Linked DNA regions of Homo sapiens: region 1 is linked to region 2. Evidence: promoter capture Hi-C in 16 types of primary human blood cells and fetal thymus (Javierre and others, 2016). All regions are on one chromosome and are shown on one strand. The core of a region is centred on a gene start or on the middle of the fragment in contact, and the rest is flanking DNA. Distances in the headings are between cores, read along the strand shown. Region 1 overlaps LOC105369313 (a long non-coding RNA gene). Region 2 holds the start of TNKS1BP1 (tankyrase 1 binding protein 1).

What was found. Contacts are between HindIII fragments. The CHiCAGO score rates a contact against its expected background, and 5 or more counts as called.
Region 1: a contact is called between a fragment that was not itself captured here and the fragment with the promoter of TNKS1BP1 in region 2, in 2 of 17 cell types (total CD8 T cells and naive CD8 T cells). The highest score is 6.4, in total CD8 T cells.

Annotation. Positions count from the first base shown.
Region 1 is chr11:58,503,728-58,511,096 of GRCh38, forward strand. LOC105369313 (a long non-coding RNA gene) reads right to left here. Exons shown (of 5, transcript XR_007062673.1): 3 at 1,742-1,815. It overlaps OR5B21 (olfactory receptor family 5 subfamily B member 21), which reads right to left and starts at 4,378. Exons shown (of 1, transcript NM_001005218.3): 1 at 3,080-4,378. The coding sequence starts at 4,378. The coding sequence ends at 3,449. The HindIII fragment of the contact is 3,170 bases long and covers 65-3,234 here.
Region 2 is chr11:57,322,106-57,328,624 of GRCh38, forward strand. It overlaps TNKS1BP1 (tankyrase 1 binding protein 1), which reads right to left and starts at 2,847. Exons shown (of 12, transcript NM_033396.3): 1 at 2,735-2,847. SSRP1 (structure specific recognition protein 1) reads right to left here. Exons shown (of 17, transcript NM_003146.3): 13 at 6,192-6,321; 14 at 5,607-5,777; 15 at 5,321-5,409; 16 at 4,598-4,784; 17 at 3,883-4,373. The coding sequence ends at 4,302. RefSeq lists a silencer at 2,651-2,930 and enhancers at 3,061-3,110, 3,140-4,013. The HindIII fragment of the contact is 11,807 bases long and covers 1-3,414 here.

The DNA.
Region 1 (7,369 bases), core at 400-2,899, 1.2 Mb after region 2:
CAAAAACTCAGTTTCACACCTCGGTTCCTCTTTTTAACAGTAGACAGGTAAGTTAACTTCTCAAAGCTTTGGTTTCCTCCACTGCAAAACTGAAGCACAAATAACTATATCATGGTGAATAAATGAAGGTAAAAGTATAAAATTTCTTTTTATACCACAAGTACTTTATAAAATATAAAAAAGGGTCAAACAAGATTTGGTTCTTTGTGAGTTTAAGCAAGTTAAACTGTAAAAATCGGGGTTTTTAATTGTGAAATGAGAGGATTGGTTTAGATTAGTTTTAAATTCTTTCAGCTTTTGGCTAAAGAGTCTATGACTCCGCAATTCCAGCTTCAATTGCCAAGGAATTTAATATTTTAATTTTCCACTCCCAATACATAAACCTCAACAAATGCTTTAATGCACAAAGGGAACATCCTATTTAGAATAATTCAATCATAATCCATTTTTGAAAGAATAATCTATCCTGATATAAATAACTGCCCTGATTTATGAATTTTCACATTCTTTTTTGAACATTTCAGGTAGGAAGTCCCTGTGCCTTTATTGCACTGCATTGAGCGGCAGGCCCTACGCACAAGGTCTCTCATTCATCAGACAATTCCTGCAGGGAGCAAGTGGGTGTTGTTATTAACCAAATGGGCATTTAGTCTCCATTTGACAGATTTCCTATGTGGAAGGGAAGAGCTCCTTGCAGTAACGTATACTCTGTGAATTGATGTCTTGCTGGCGACAGGACATCTCCTTCTGAGTAGTTTCTATAAATGAATACCCGTGTAATGTCAGCTTGAAATATGTCTGCTGTAGAGCTGGGAACTTGGAGGGCAGGAAGTTAAACAAGGAATGAAAATAAAAGCTAGGATTTGGATGGGACGAGCTTCACCTATCAGTCCTTGGACTTCCTATTTTTGCTCAGGCAGCTCAAGAGCCAAAATAAGAAGTCCAGGGAGAGCTAAGTGAAGAAAGAGCTAGTATAGAAATCTCAATGGTATGAAATACACATTCATTATGATGGGCACATTCACATACTTAATTTCATATTACCCTCACACTTTATCCTGTATATTGGGTTCAGTAAGACTAAATGACTTTCTTGAGGTCACACAATTGATAAGAACAGTTAGAATTTTCATCCAGCTTTTGATAGTACTCTTTTATACCTATTTACAGTCAGATAGAACACTTGTTTGAGGTGATTTCAACATAAAATATAAATATGTAGACATTGAGCCCTTAAATCTCAGGAGGCCCACATTTTCCTGCCTAAACTGAGGTATAGAGGCATAACAAAATATGTCCATAAGAATGATAAAATGGACTTTGGGGTCTCGATGGGGGAAGGTTGGGAGGGAGGTGAGGAATAAAAGACTATATATTGGGCACACTGCTCGGGTGATGGGCACATTAAAATCTCAGAAACCACCACTAAAGGACTTATCCATGTAACCAAAAACAACCTGTACCCCCAAAACTAATGAAATAAAAATTAAAACCATAAAAGAAATAAACATGCCCAGATACACATCTTAATATATACTGTAATGGTTATGATATATAGACTCTAGACTTTAATTTTTTTATAGAAATCTAAATGGCCTAGTGGTGAGGAAAGTTCCTGCTTGGGCTGGGCATAGAAAGAAGTTGGGAAAGAAAAAGAGGAGAAGGATAAAATGAAGTAAAGAAGGAGGAGCAGGATGAGGAGGGAAAAAAGTCAATTATATCAAGTAGGGAAAATGTGTACCTGAGATTGGAATGCACCCAGTGCTTGGATAGCTGCTTCCCAGGCTCTTCTCCAAATGCAGATACTCTTGAGCTCTGTAGATTTCAATGAGAAAGATTCCTATATGCAGTGGATCCTGGCCTGTAAAGGCTGTTCTTCCTGTGTGTTGCTGAATAGGCCTCATTGCTAAAGAAGAGGGGAGGGAGGGGGCTGAATGGGGGAGGTATAGGTTGTCTAGGCCTTGGGCTCAGAAGCTCCTGATCTTTTCAGGTGATGGCAACCATGTGCCAGAGAAAGCTATTCTCATGTTTCTCATGTTCCATAACTCCTTCTTTGCAATTTTTCCCAGAAGACTTATGATTTATCCTCCTCAGACAGAGGCTGCCCTGTACATAATGGAGCTTGATAATCTGAAAACTAAATTGACATTTTAAGCCAACTGAGTTAGCCAACCAAGATTTCTGGTTTTCATCTATAAGGTCAAAATTAATTTGTTGGGTTTTTTGGGGAGATTTTGAAATCATGATCTATTGTGGTGACTTAGATTAACTGTAGTTATAAACACCATCAAGGAGTTGATACGTGAGAAGTGAAATTAATCACCACTCCCTTCCCACACACACACATTTGCTCACACCATCTAGCACATGAAACAAGACCTGAAGGTGTACTAGCACTGTGCGTCACCGTGCTGTTCCTAAGAAGTAAATTTCCAGGCAGGCTTTTTTATTCTTGTAGCATCTAATTACAGAACACCGGAATGCAATGGAGACCCAGAGGTGAGCTGAATTATTGAAAAAGTAAAAGCAAAGACAGTCCAGAAAGCTATTATATATCTTCATAATAGATTCACCAAACTTAAGGGTGCTAAGAAATGCAAGCATTTAATTCAGAAAACAAATATATTTTTTCATAGCTCTAGGGAAAACTGCTTTTTTTCTCTAAACCTTCTGGAAGTTTTGGTAATTATGTTAGACAGAGACAAGAAACATAAAAGATAGTGTAGGCTCTCCGAAGGAAGTTGTATTTAGTCAGGTTAAAGTTGAAGTAATTCATCTATTAAAGCATTCCCATATTTCTGTATATAACAAGGTGTAATGTTTCCCCAATGATTTAGCAAAAGGGAATGGAAATTACAAAGGCACATGACTAGTGAGTAGGATAGGAATGTGGGTAGAGAAGGGAGAGTAAGGGGTTGGAAAGATTTAATCGTCAGCTACCTGACTCGATCTAGTGCCTTGTCCTTTAAATTACAACTTTCTCTCAAATATCATTTAAAATATTGAAACATCCTTTGTCTACCTCAGAAAGTCCAACTTTCAAACTCGCAGAACAAAAGAATAAAAAAGATACTGTGTGTTCAGTTGATAAAAATGAAGGTGAAATCTTTACACCAAGTTTAATAGTGAATGAAAAATTCTTACAATTAAAAACAGGATGAGGAAAATTTGGTACATTCATTTGTATGCTTCAATCTTCTGCTTTAAACCACGTCAAGAAACTAAAGCAAGAAAAGCTTAACTGTCCCATGTTGTTGTTCACTAAATATAAGATTATCTTTCTAAGTAAGACTTTCAACGTGCTGCTTTTTACATCTTCTAATAGCAGAAGTAACCGCTGTTCTTGGGGAAGAAAGAACTGAAACCAGTCAAACGTTAAAAGTCATGATGGCATTTAGGTGTGAGAGAAAGTTTATCCCTTAATTGCTTGCCTACTTCCCATTCACATTTAATATTGGGGGTAAAGTTTGTTGAGTATTTTCCAGAGAGCACTTTTCACTTCTTTGTTCCTAAGGCTGTATATCAAGGGATTCAGCATGGGAATCACCACTGTGTAAAACACAGAGGCTATTTTGTCTGTGTCCACGGACTGGCTGGAGTTGGGCTGTAAGTACATGAAGATGATTGTGCCATAGAAGATGGACAAAGCAGTGAGATGGGAAGCACAGGTGGAGAAGACTTTCTTCTGCCCTTCAGCAGAATGCATCCTCTGAATGGTGATGCATATGAAGAAGTAAGAAATAAGGATGACCAGGAGGGTGAAAAAGACGTTGAAGCCTGCCACAAAGACCACCAACTTGCTGATGCGTGTGTCAGAGCATGAGAGAGCCAGGAGTGGGGGAATGTCACAGAAGAAATGATTAATCTCATTAGAACCACAGAAGGAGAGTCTGAAGGTGCCTGCTGCATGGATAGAGGCATTGAGGAAGCCAGAGACATAGGAACCAGTAGCAAGGAGGGCACACACACCTGCTGTCATGGTGGTGGTGTAATGAAGAGGCCTACATACCGCTGCATGGCGATCATAGGCCATGGAGGCCAGGAGGTAGCACTCAACAGTGGCAAACCCCACAAAGAAGAAGAACTGAGCTGCACATCCATCGTAGGAGATGGCCTTGTCCCCTGACCGCAATGCAGCCACCGTTTTGGGGGCTACAGCTGATGAGTAACCCAAGTCTACAAGGGAGAGGTTACTGAGGAAAAAGTACATTGGAGTGTGGAGATGGGAGTCTGAGTGGATGATCACCATCATTCCCCCATTCCCAAGCAGGGTGATGAGGTAGATGAATAAAAATGCCAGGAGGAGGGGTATCTGAAGATTGGGGTCATCTGTTAATCCCAAGAGGATAAACTCTGTCACTTCTGTGCTATTCTCCATTGTGGCCAGCTTGAATTAGCCTGGTGATTAAAGAAGAGGCGTCAACAAAATTCCAATGAAAGTATGAGAAGGGAGGATGGAATGATAAAAAAGGAGAAAACTAATGTATAGAGAGAATGTACTGTGTGTAACACTCATCCTAGAACCCTCTGTTATATTATAGCTTTTAATTCATATGAGATAGGTGCTATTATGCCCATCTTACAGATAAGGAAGTTAAGGCTCAGGGAGCTGAATATTGAGCAAGATAGCCTATCTAGGGGTCAGAATCAAAGTTCACCCCTTTATATTTCTGAATCTAAAGTTCATACATTCATCTTGAATTCTTTAACACATTTACATCATATAAATACAAATTATGATGTGGATATAAGATTGTATGTATTTAATTATTAAAAATAAAAACATCCATCACTTATTGTCTTCCACATTCTACTTCCAATAATATAGCCTCACTAAAGATTTTCTAAATTTATTTTTCCTTAAAACAACACAAGTTTATTCTCTCAAAATTCTGGAGGCCAGAAGCCTCAAATCAGTTTCACTGGGCCAAAATCAAGGTGTTGGCAGGACAAGGTGGTGCCCTCAAGGTCTGTTTGATACTAAATCCAAAGATCTTAACCACAACTTTTGAAGCCTTTATAAATTAATCCCTCAACAGTAGTTCAACTGAAAGGGAGTATGGTATATGTAAATATGAGTATGTATTTATATATATTTAATATAAAACTATAAATTTGATATATACAAATGGCTTTGTGTATCTGTGTATATGCATATGTCTTTTTTCACCCCTTATCAGAAGTCTTTGCTGTAGACCCTAATTCCAGTTAAGTCCTCCTTTCTCTCCCTCCTCAAAGCACTTGAGTCTTGGCTGATTATTGCACAATTAGCTGGGCAACCACTCACTCTTCACCTAGCTCTAAGCCCCTTGGGACAGTAACTATCTTCATCCCCTCTGGTCCACTCTCCTTACCATGGCCCCTCACACATGTATGTAAATATTTGGTGAATCAAACAGAACATCAATAGGAAAGTATGGAAATATTTTTCATGCTCTTTAATCCCACAACAAACATCCTATCATCCTCTTGTCTACCAGGTTTGTGCTTTGGGCCAAAATATTAGCTTAGACTTGTCATATGAAAAATATTCAGGAGTAACAGTGAGTTTGCAGATGGTCAGGCCTGGAGACAGGTTTCTGTCCTCATTTTAGAGCATTCTTTCTCTCCTATTTTTGTTCCTCAACCTGAGGTGTTCACAGGCTTTCCCCACTCCTAGTAGCAGAGTGAGTGGGAGCAGACTCAGAAGAAGTGAGGGAGAAAATGTGAGAAGAGAGGAGGAAAAAGGAGAAAACAGGAATTAAAGGAGAAAAATGCTTCAGCTCTGCTGGACTTTAGCTTACCTTGAAGAGTAACAGCAGCAATTTGATTGGTGACACAAAAAGAAGGGGATAGTGTAGCTTGTCCTTTTTGGATGACCATCACACACACACGATGTGGCTAGTTTCATAAGAACTGGCTCAGTCAGCTTGGTACATTACTATCCAGTAATGTACTAATTGACTTTCTGACCAGCATCACTTTCTATTATATTTATCCAGCCTTTTTTAACTTGTTTTTCTTTTGACTTTTGACATGTGTGTATACTCTCAAATTTAGCAAACACAATATCCTGTAATCTATGACAGGCAGTGTTCTGATCTTACATATTTGGAAACAGAAGGATGTGGTGCCCCTCAAGGTCACATAACTGCTTAACTGTAAAATCTGTACAATTCCAGAGCCTGGTTTTTCAGCCTCAGCACTACTGACATTATGAGCTGGACAGTTCTTTGGTGCAGGGTGTGGTGGGGGAGAGGGAGTGCTGTCCTGTGCATTGTAAGATATTCAGCAGTTTCCCTGGCCTCTCTCTAATCACTAGATTCCAGTAACACCACCACCTCCCATTTGTAACAGTCAAAAATGTCTCCAGACGTGGCCAAATGTCCCCTGAAGGGTAACATTCCCCTGATTGAGAACCACTGTTCTAGAGCTTTTAAAAAACAGTGGTTCTAAAGTTTATAAAACTCTTTTTGCATTCACTTCTTAATTTAATTATTGCATGACTAGATAGAGAGAGAGAGAGATAGCAGATATAGACATGAAGAAACCGAGGCTCAGTGAGGTGAAGTGACTGGTTTAAAGTCTAGAACTCTGGCCAAATATTGCTGCTTATTGGTAGAGGGATCCCAGGAAGGGATAACTGCTTGCTAAGTACGTGGTCCTTTGACCAAAGAGATACCAGTCCTCCCATATTGTAAACCAACCTTTTCCTAGACACAAGGTAGGATGAAAACCTGGAAAAATTCCAAGAATAAAATGCAGCTGACTTAGGGTGGATTCTGAATTATTTTCCAAAATACCTTCTGAAATGCTTATTAGATCAATCTCCTTGGTTAATATTGACCACAGGAGTCTATTCACTTAAGCTGTACGTTCAGTTTTTAAAAGCCATTACACCCACCCCCCCGCCCCCGCCATATTGAACTGTCCCTGACTGCCATGTTCCTCTACCGGCAATTAATATTCAAGGTACTTTCTGTGTTCCGTTAATGGGCAACCCTTCCGTTTATGCATTGCAGTCTCTGTTAATAAATGTGTTGAGATCCAGAGCAGCAAGGAGAAATCTGGAGTCAGTGCAGAGAGAAAAGGCCTCATTTACCCAGCACCAAGCCTGGGAGGCTGCAAGGCCTGAATCCAAATCCTGCTGCTGCTGCTGTATCTCCTCCCACTCAAGTCCTGTAAAACCCAGGCTTTTCTGCATGGACCTAAAATAAATATCGGAAGGAGTCTTGAAAGAGAAAAAATATTTTTAAAATATCTACGGTTGAATACTGAAATATCTAAGGTTAAAATATTAAGTCAAAACCTGAAAAAGCATTAAAATTTAAGGAATTATTATTGTTATAAAGAGAGAAGGAGAAGTCTAAGCCATTAAGATAGTTTGGAA
Region 2 (6,519 bases), core at 1,597-4,096:
TCCCAACAGCCATATCCTCAACTCTTCAAAGATCCTCCCCAACTCTTATCTCCTAACCCCAAAGTCCTAGCGCTTCAGGGAGTCACTCACTGCTCCCTCCTCTGACAAGCTCTCCAAGACACCCCACTTACAGTCCCCACAGTGCCCCTTGGGTAGGACGGCCCCGCTGGAGGTGTCTACTCAAAGCAGAGCTAGAGAGCTGCAAAGTATGAAGTCTGTCTGTGAATCACCTCACGGGAGACGGGAAAAACCCGCTCCTCCCCAACCTGGGCTCCGCCCCACTGCCTGCCTCCCCCTTCCCACTCACCCTCCTTCCCTCTCTCCCTCCCTCCCGCAGCTGGGAGTGGTTCCTTCTCCCCCCTCTCCCTGTTCTCCTTCCACATCCCTGCCCCACTCTCTCCCCTCCCTCAGAACTGTCTCATCCAAACACGGAAAAATAAGGAATAAAAAGTAAACATCTGGAATATATTTTTTTCTTTAATTTCTCAATCGCTTGGCTTCAGCTTGGAATTTGATGAGGTAAAGCCAGGGCCTAGTCCTGTTGCCATAGCAATGGCCTCCCACTGGATTTCCAGGGCCTAGCCAAGAGGAAGGAGGAGCCGGCCCAGGCCTGGGCTGGGAGAACGGGACAGGGCTTGAGAACATCCGGGGGGTGGAGTGACTTGGGGGAAAATTCCCTGGGGCTCCACCTTCCACGACAGTCAGGGTGGAGCAGCCACAGCCTATGTATGAAAAGGGGTTATGTGGGCTTCACTCACCAGCCTAGGGTTGGCTTTAAGGAGTTCTGAGGGGGACAGAAGAAATTAAACCAAGAGGCACAGCCTGGTGGTAGAAGCCTGTCACATGAGCTTCAGGATCTGATATACCAAGATTCAGTGCTGGGTGGGTCTACCACTTTCTAGCCCTGTGACTTCTCCAAGCCTCAGTTTCTCCAACTGAAAAATGGGATTATTGAGACCCTGAGGGGGCTTACATGAAATAGTACATGAAATAGGCTTAGCACAATGCCTAGCACATAATAAGTGTTCAACAAATGTTGCCTATTATTACTGTGATTCCATTCAGTGTCACCAATGAGCTAACATCCCTGATAACCACCTCCTCCTCTTCCCTGACCCCAGGCTACCAGCATTCCCAGACCATTCCTTCACTCTCCCAGGCCCTAGTCCTGTCACCTGTTCTTCAGATACTCCAACCACCTCCTCAGTTCCCATCCTGACTCCTGAAGCACTCTCCCACCCACAAAAACATGGAGACCCTGGGGGATAGGGCCCTGCACCTCTCATGCAAGGCGGAAGTTTCCCTCACCTGGTATGCAGAGCCCTGAGGACAACCCAAACTTCTCCAACCTGCAAGGGGCATTGCCTCACTTAAAGTCACCCACTCCAGCTGGTCTGGGAAGACAGCACCAAATCCTTAAAAGGGACCCCCAGTGCTCATCCTCTGCAAAATCCAACACCCCTCCCCTAACGCTGACCCTGCCCCAGGTGTTTCAAAGATGGGAGAGGGTATGAAGACAGTAGAGAAACCCAGTACTGTCAACCCATTGGTCAGTTAACCACCACGGAAGACTGCCCACTGTGGGTGGGTGAATAACTGTGCAGAGCCAGGCCAAGTGTGGTGGGGGGAGGGGCACATGATAGAAAAAATAAAATTAAAACACAAGATTGTTTCCTTGTCCTTGAACATTATTACTAGGAACATAGTGTGGGTGGTTGGAGATGGAAATTAATTGGCTCAGAACCAAAAAAATCCTTTCACCTGGGGTTCTGATGGGCCCCTCTGCGGTATGAGGGGCTGCAGCAATGAAGGCGGGCTCAGAGTCCCCAGGTGCGGAGGTGGCCACAGCAACTCAGAGACCCCAGCCAGGGGCCCCAGGTGACCAAGGCCACCAAGGCTGTGGCCAGAAGCTGCGATTCGCAGCGGTTCTGAGCACTCCCCACCCTCAAGAGACCAGGGGGTAGAGGGTAGCAGGGTAGAAACGAGCTGACCCCTGGCAGATAAGGCCTCCAGAAGGGCTGGGCAGCTCCAGCCCCGGAGGGGACTCGGCGCAGGCGGGGTCGCCCCTATGGACCCCAGGATCTCCAGCCGGATCCGAGGCTAGAGAGGTCGGCAGGGACAGCACGTAAACTGCTGGAAAGAGGGAGGGCCAACGGGAAGATGGAACAGCCCCGGGCAATGGGCTGTCTGGAGGGGCCCAGTGGGGAGCTCTGGACACAGAAGGGACGGCGGCAGCCGAAGAGGAGGAGGAGGAGGGGGCTGCGGTGGCGGCAGAAGCGGAGGACCTGTGAGCGGGCTGTGAAGCAGCCGGCGAACAGACGGTGGGCTGCAGACGTCGATCAGGTGGGGGCGGACTGGGGTGGCTGGGGGCGTGCCGAAGGAGCCGGGGGAGGGGGCTAGCGCGGCCCGGAGGAAGGGGAGGCAGGGGTCCCTCCAGCGGCTCTGCCCGCCCCCGGCCCCGCCCCAAGCCCTCGCCCCCTCCCCCCTTTCTTCTGGCTCTGCCAGCACGAGCTCCAAGCCATGCGCCCTCCGCCTCCGCGCACACGCGCCACCTTCCCCCGGGCCTCCAGCGTCCCCAGCGCCCTCGGCCCCTGCAAACTTTCCTGGTGACCCCCCGACCACCACCACCTCAACCCGAGGTGTCGGCTGGAAAGCACCCACTCCTTCCATGCCCCTCCCCCGCCCCATCCCGGACCCCGCCCCCTCCTTCGCCCGACCGCCCCCGCGCACTCACGCGCTCGCCCGGGGTCCGGCTCCGCTCGGCTCGGGGCCCCGATGCCAGTCCCCGCCGCCGCCGCCGCTGCTACCGCCGCCGCCGCCGCCGTCACCGCGGGACGAAGCCACTGCGAGCCCCGGCGGGGCCCCGCCCCAACTCCGCCCAGGTCCACGCCCCCAGGGCGCTTCATGAATATGCATGAGCCGGTTGGAACCCGGGAGTGGGAAGCCCGTGCAGAATTCGTCCCACCGTCGGCAAACAGGCGCGGCCCAGCACTCAATTATTCATGAGGCTTGCAGATGAGGGGCCCGCCCCAGTCTCAGACCGGGGCGAAACTGACGCAATTCAGCCGGGAGCGCTCGGGTAAAATGGCCACCGAGACGACTGCCTAGAGAAACTGCCTTGGCGGCCCCTCCCGGGCTCCGCCGCCTGCACAGAGCACAGTATCATCGAGCTACGCCGGCAAGAAGGTAGCCGCCGGCTGACTGAAGCGGCTTCCTGATACAACCACCTGAGTGCTGAGAACGCGCGCAACGTGGCCACCCTCCTGTGTCAATTCAGATTTAGAGCCACCGTGAAGAAGTCTGGCAGCTCTGCATTCCTCATTAGTGACCTTTATCTCCTTTTAGGCCCCTTCTCAGACATGGGTTCCTCCCTACACTGAAGTTTGTATACCCCCTTCTTCCCGTAAGAACAAAAGCTTCACATATAACTCCGTACTTTGTTGCACCACCACCAGGCTGCAACCACCACCACTCTACGCACACGCTCATCCTCCCCGACTCTCCAGGCTCAGGTTTCCACTCCCCCGGCTGCGGGAAGGACAGTCAATCCTGATTTCATTATCGAAAGCCTTGGAAGACCCTTGACTCATAGGTAAGGATGCAGCCAAGAGCTGCCTCCCCCTAGCTTGGTTGGCTAATGGAGTGTAACTGGGAGAAACTTCCTAATCAGATCAGCTCTCATTTCTAGACTCTCAGGTGGCCCATCCGGGCAGAGGCGGGTGAAAACCAATGCTCGTCCAGCCGGGAACAGAACAGGATGTACCTCGAGACTTGCTTCCCGGCTGGCCAGGAAGGCCCTGCCCAGTCTGACCAGAGCAGTAAACACCACCAATAAAAGTGGGAGCAACACACCAAGGCTACAAAGAAAGCATGAGGACATGGTTTCCAAAGTCAGTTCCCTTTATTAAATCATTTTCACAGACCAGAAATACAAAATGAAAGTAGAAATAGGCCCCAGGTAGGAGCTACAGGCCTGGCCTCACATGACCCCTGCTCCAGCAACTTGAACAGGACAAGCAGCAGCTACATCCTTAAGGTCGGGAAAGTAAGATGAGGATTTGGATCCTGCATTGCCCTGCCTCCCACCCTATCTCTCCCCAAATTATAAACAGCCATCCTTGGGAAGCAGCAGAGTTAAGACGTCTCCCCACTGCCCTAGTGACATACACACCAACAGGAGAGCATGTTCAGATGGCACAGAATCCAGGGACTGCATTTCATGAGGAGAAACTGGTACCAAAATATGGGTGGGGAGTCGGGGGGTGTGAGAAGGCAAGCGCAAAGAGAACCTTCCTCCGTTTCTACTCATCGGATCCTGACGCTGAGTCCTCTGAGCTGGGGGGAGTACTGGCTAGTTCTTCTTCTTCAGAGTCCTGAAAACCAAAGGTGTCTTAAGGGAAAAGCTGGAGTCCTGGGTGCCCCACCCACTCTTCAGTGAAGGGCCCGCAATTCCCTACCGCCCCCAACTACAGCACCCCCCTTCAGAACCTCAGAATTCCACCATCCACTCCAACTCATTACTCTTACAGACCAACCCCACACAGACACACATGCCCCTCACCCTGCCCAGCCCACAGGCCCCACATTCCTGCCGCACCTCGCTCCTCCTCCTCTTCTTTTTGCTCTTGTTCTCTCCCGAAGAGCTCTCATCACTAGACACAAACTCTTTGCTCTTGAAGCTCTCGCTTAGCTGCCTTGAGGACGACTTGGATGATGAGCCCCTAGAGGGCGTGGATTTCTTTTCCATCTTTACCTTTACTTTCTTCTTCTTCTTTGACTTGTCCCTGTATTGGCAAGAGGGAAGAGGAGCTGGGCCTTCAGGTCCCCTGTCACCATGACCAAACCTCTCCCAGCTTTAACAAGGCCTTTCCCAATCCCAGCCACACAGCCCATTTCACTCTGAACGTAAATAGCTGCGTCAGCCTGGAGGGCACCAAGGGAGAGTATCATGAGTACACCAGAAGAATCAGAGGGCACAGCCTAAAGCAGCCCAATGTGCAAAACCTACTTGATATTTCTTGCTTTATCTTTTAGAGTTCATGCAAACTGTGCACTGCACTCCATAATAGTATTTTTTTCGTTCCCCCATACCTTCAAATAAAATGGTCCAGGAAAAGAGGCCATATTTCCCCAGTGACTTGAATGCCCTATTGTGTCACCCATACTTGGGCAATGGCCTACCCAGGTTTGAGAAGCACTACCCTACTGCAGTCAGAAGCATCTCTGCTGTCTTTAACTTTCCAATGCTCAACTTCGGCCTGTTAAAAAAAAAAAAGTCTGCCACAAAAATCAGTGACTGGGCCATGTTCTCGACACTCACCTCTTAGAAGACTCGCCTCGGCCCCCTTCATATTCTTTCATGGCTTTTTCATAGTCCCTCCTGGCATCCTCAGCCTTGCGATCCCACTCCTGTCTCACACACAGAAAAAAACAGTTAAGAATAAGACCTCTCCCATCTCCCCTCTCCCCTGATGCAGGCAAAATCGATACAGAAAGTCCCACCAATGGCTCATACTGCTCCCCTATCAGTCATGAGACTCGCCACCCCAAGACAGCACCTCTCGCCAGCCCATGAGAGGCATCACCCCTCCTCTGCTGCTACTCACCTCTTTCTTCTCTTTGGACATTCCCTTCCAGATCTCGCCTGCCTTCTTGGAAAGATCCGTGATGCTGATGCCAGGATGGTCTGACTTGATCTTCTCTCGGCTGGCATTGAGCCACAGCATGTATGCAGACATGGGCCTCTTGGGGGCATTGGGGTCTTTGCCCTTCTTCACCTACATAAGAACCCAAATGCCTTCAGCTATTTCCCACAGAACCCATACATTTTCCCAAATAAATTATTTAGATCACTTAACTTGGAGAAAAAGTGGAGGACTAAATAGCATCAGGCGAGACGAGAGCTCCCTAAGGGCAAGGATAGTATCTCCTTCCCCTCTGCAATTCAGTGCCTAGCTTACCAGGACAGAAGCCCATCTCCTAATTCAGACCTTCCAGAAGCTTATTAATCTCAGGGCTAGTGAGAAAAATTTCCAAGAAGATAACCCTCAAGGCTATAATCACTGGCTATAAAAAACAGCCCCAAGGAAGAACAGGTCCTACTGGTGGTGGACAGGAGAAGGTAAAGAGAATGCCTCCCACGCCCCCCACCCACTGCACCACACACAGGCCCTCCCATCTACAGTCTGCACCTCCACAGGCTTCTTGCGGCTCTTGCGGTCCTTGGCCATCTTGGCCTTTTTGAGCTGTTTCCGCTTCTTCTCATCCCGGTCACTGTCACCCTCATTACTGGAGGAGCTGGCAGAGGCGTTGCTGTCAAACCTGCCAGAGAACAAGCCAGGCTTAGACTTGAGGAGGGAAGACAGGACCCCACGGCCTCAGGACAGGAGGAAGACAAATCCAAAGATACCCACCCAAAAGGGGCAAGGGAGGAAGACCAGAGGACAGTATCCACCACCAATCCCCAACACTGCTTTCTCCCATTCACTGTGGTGGCTTCAGCCATGCCCTCTCCAGACC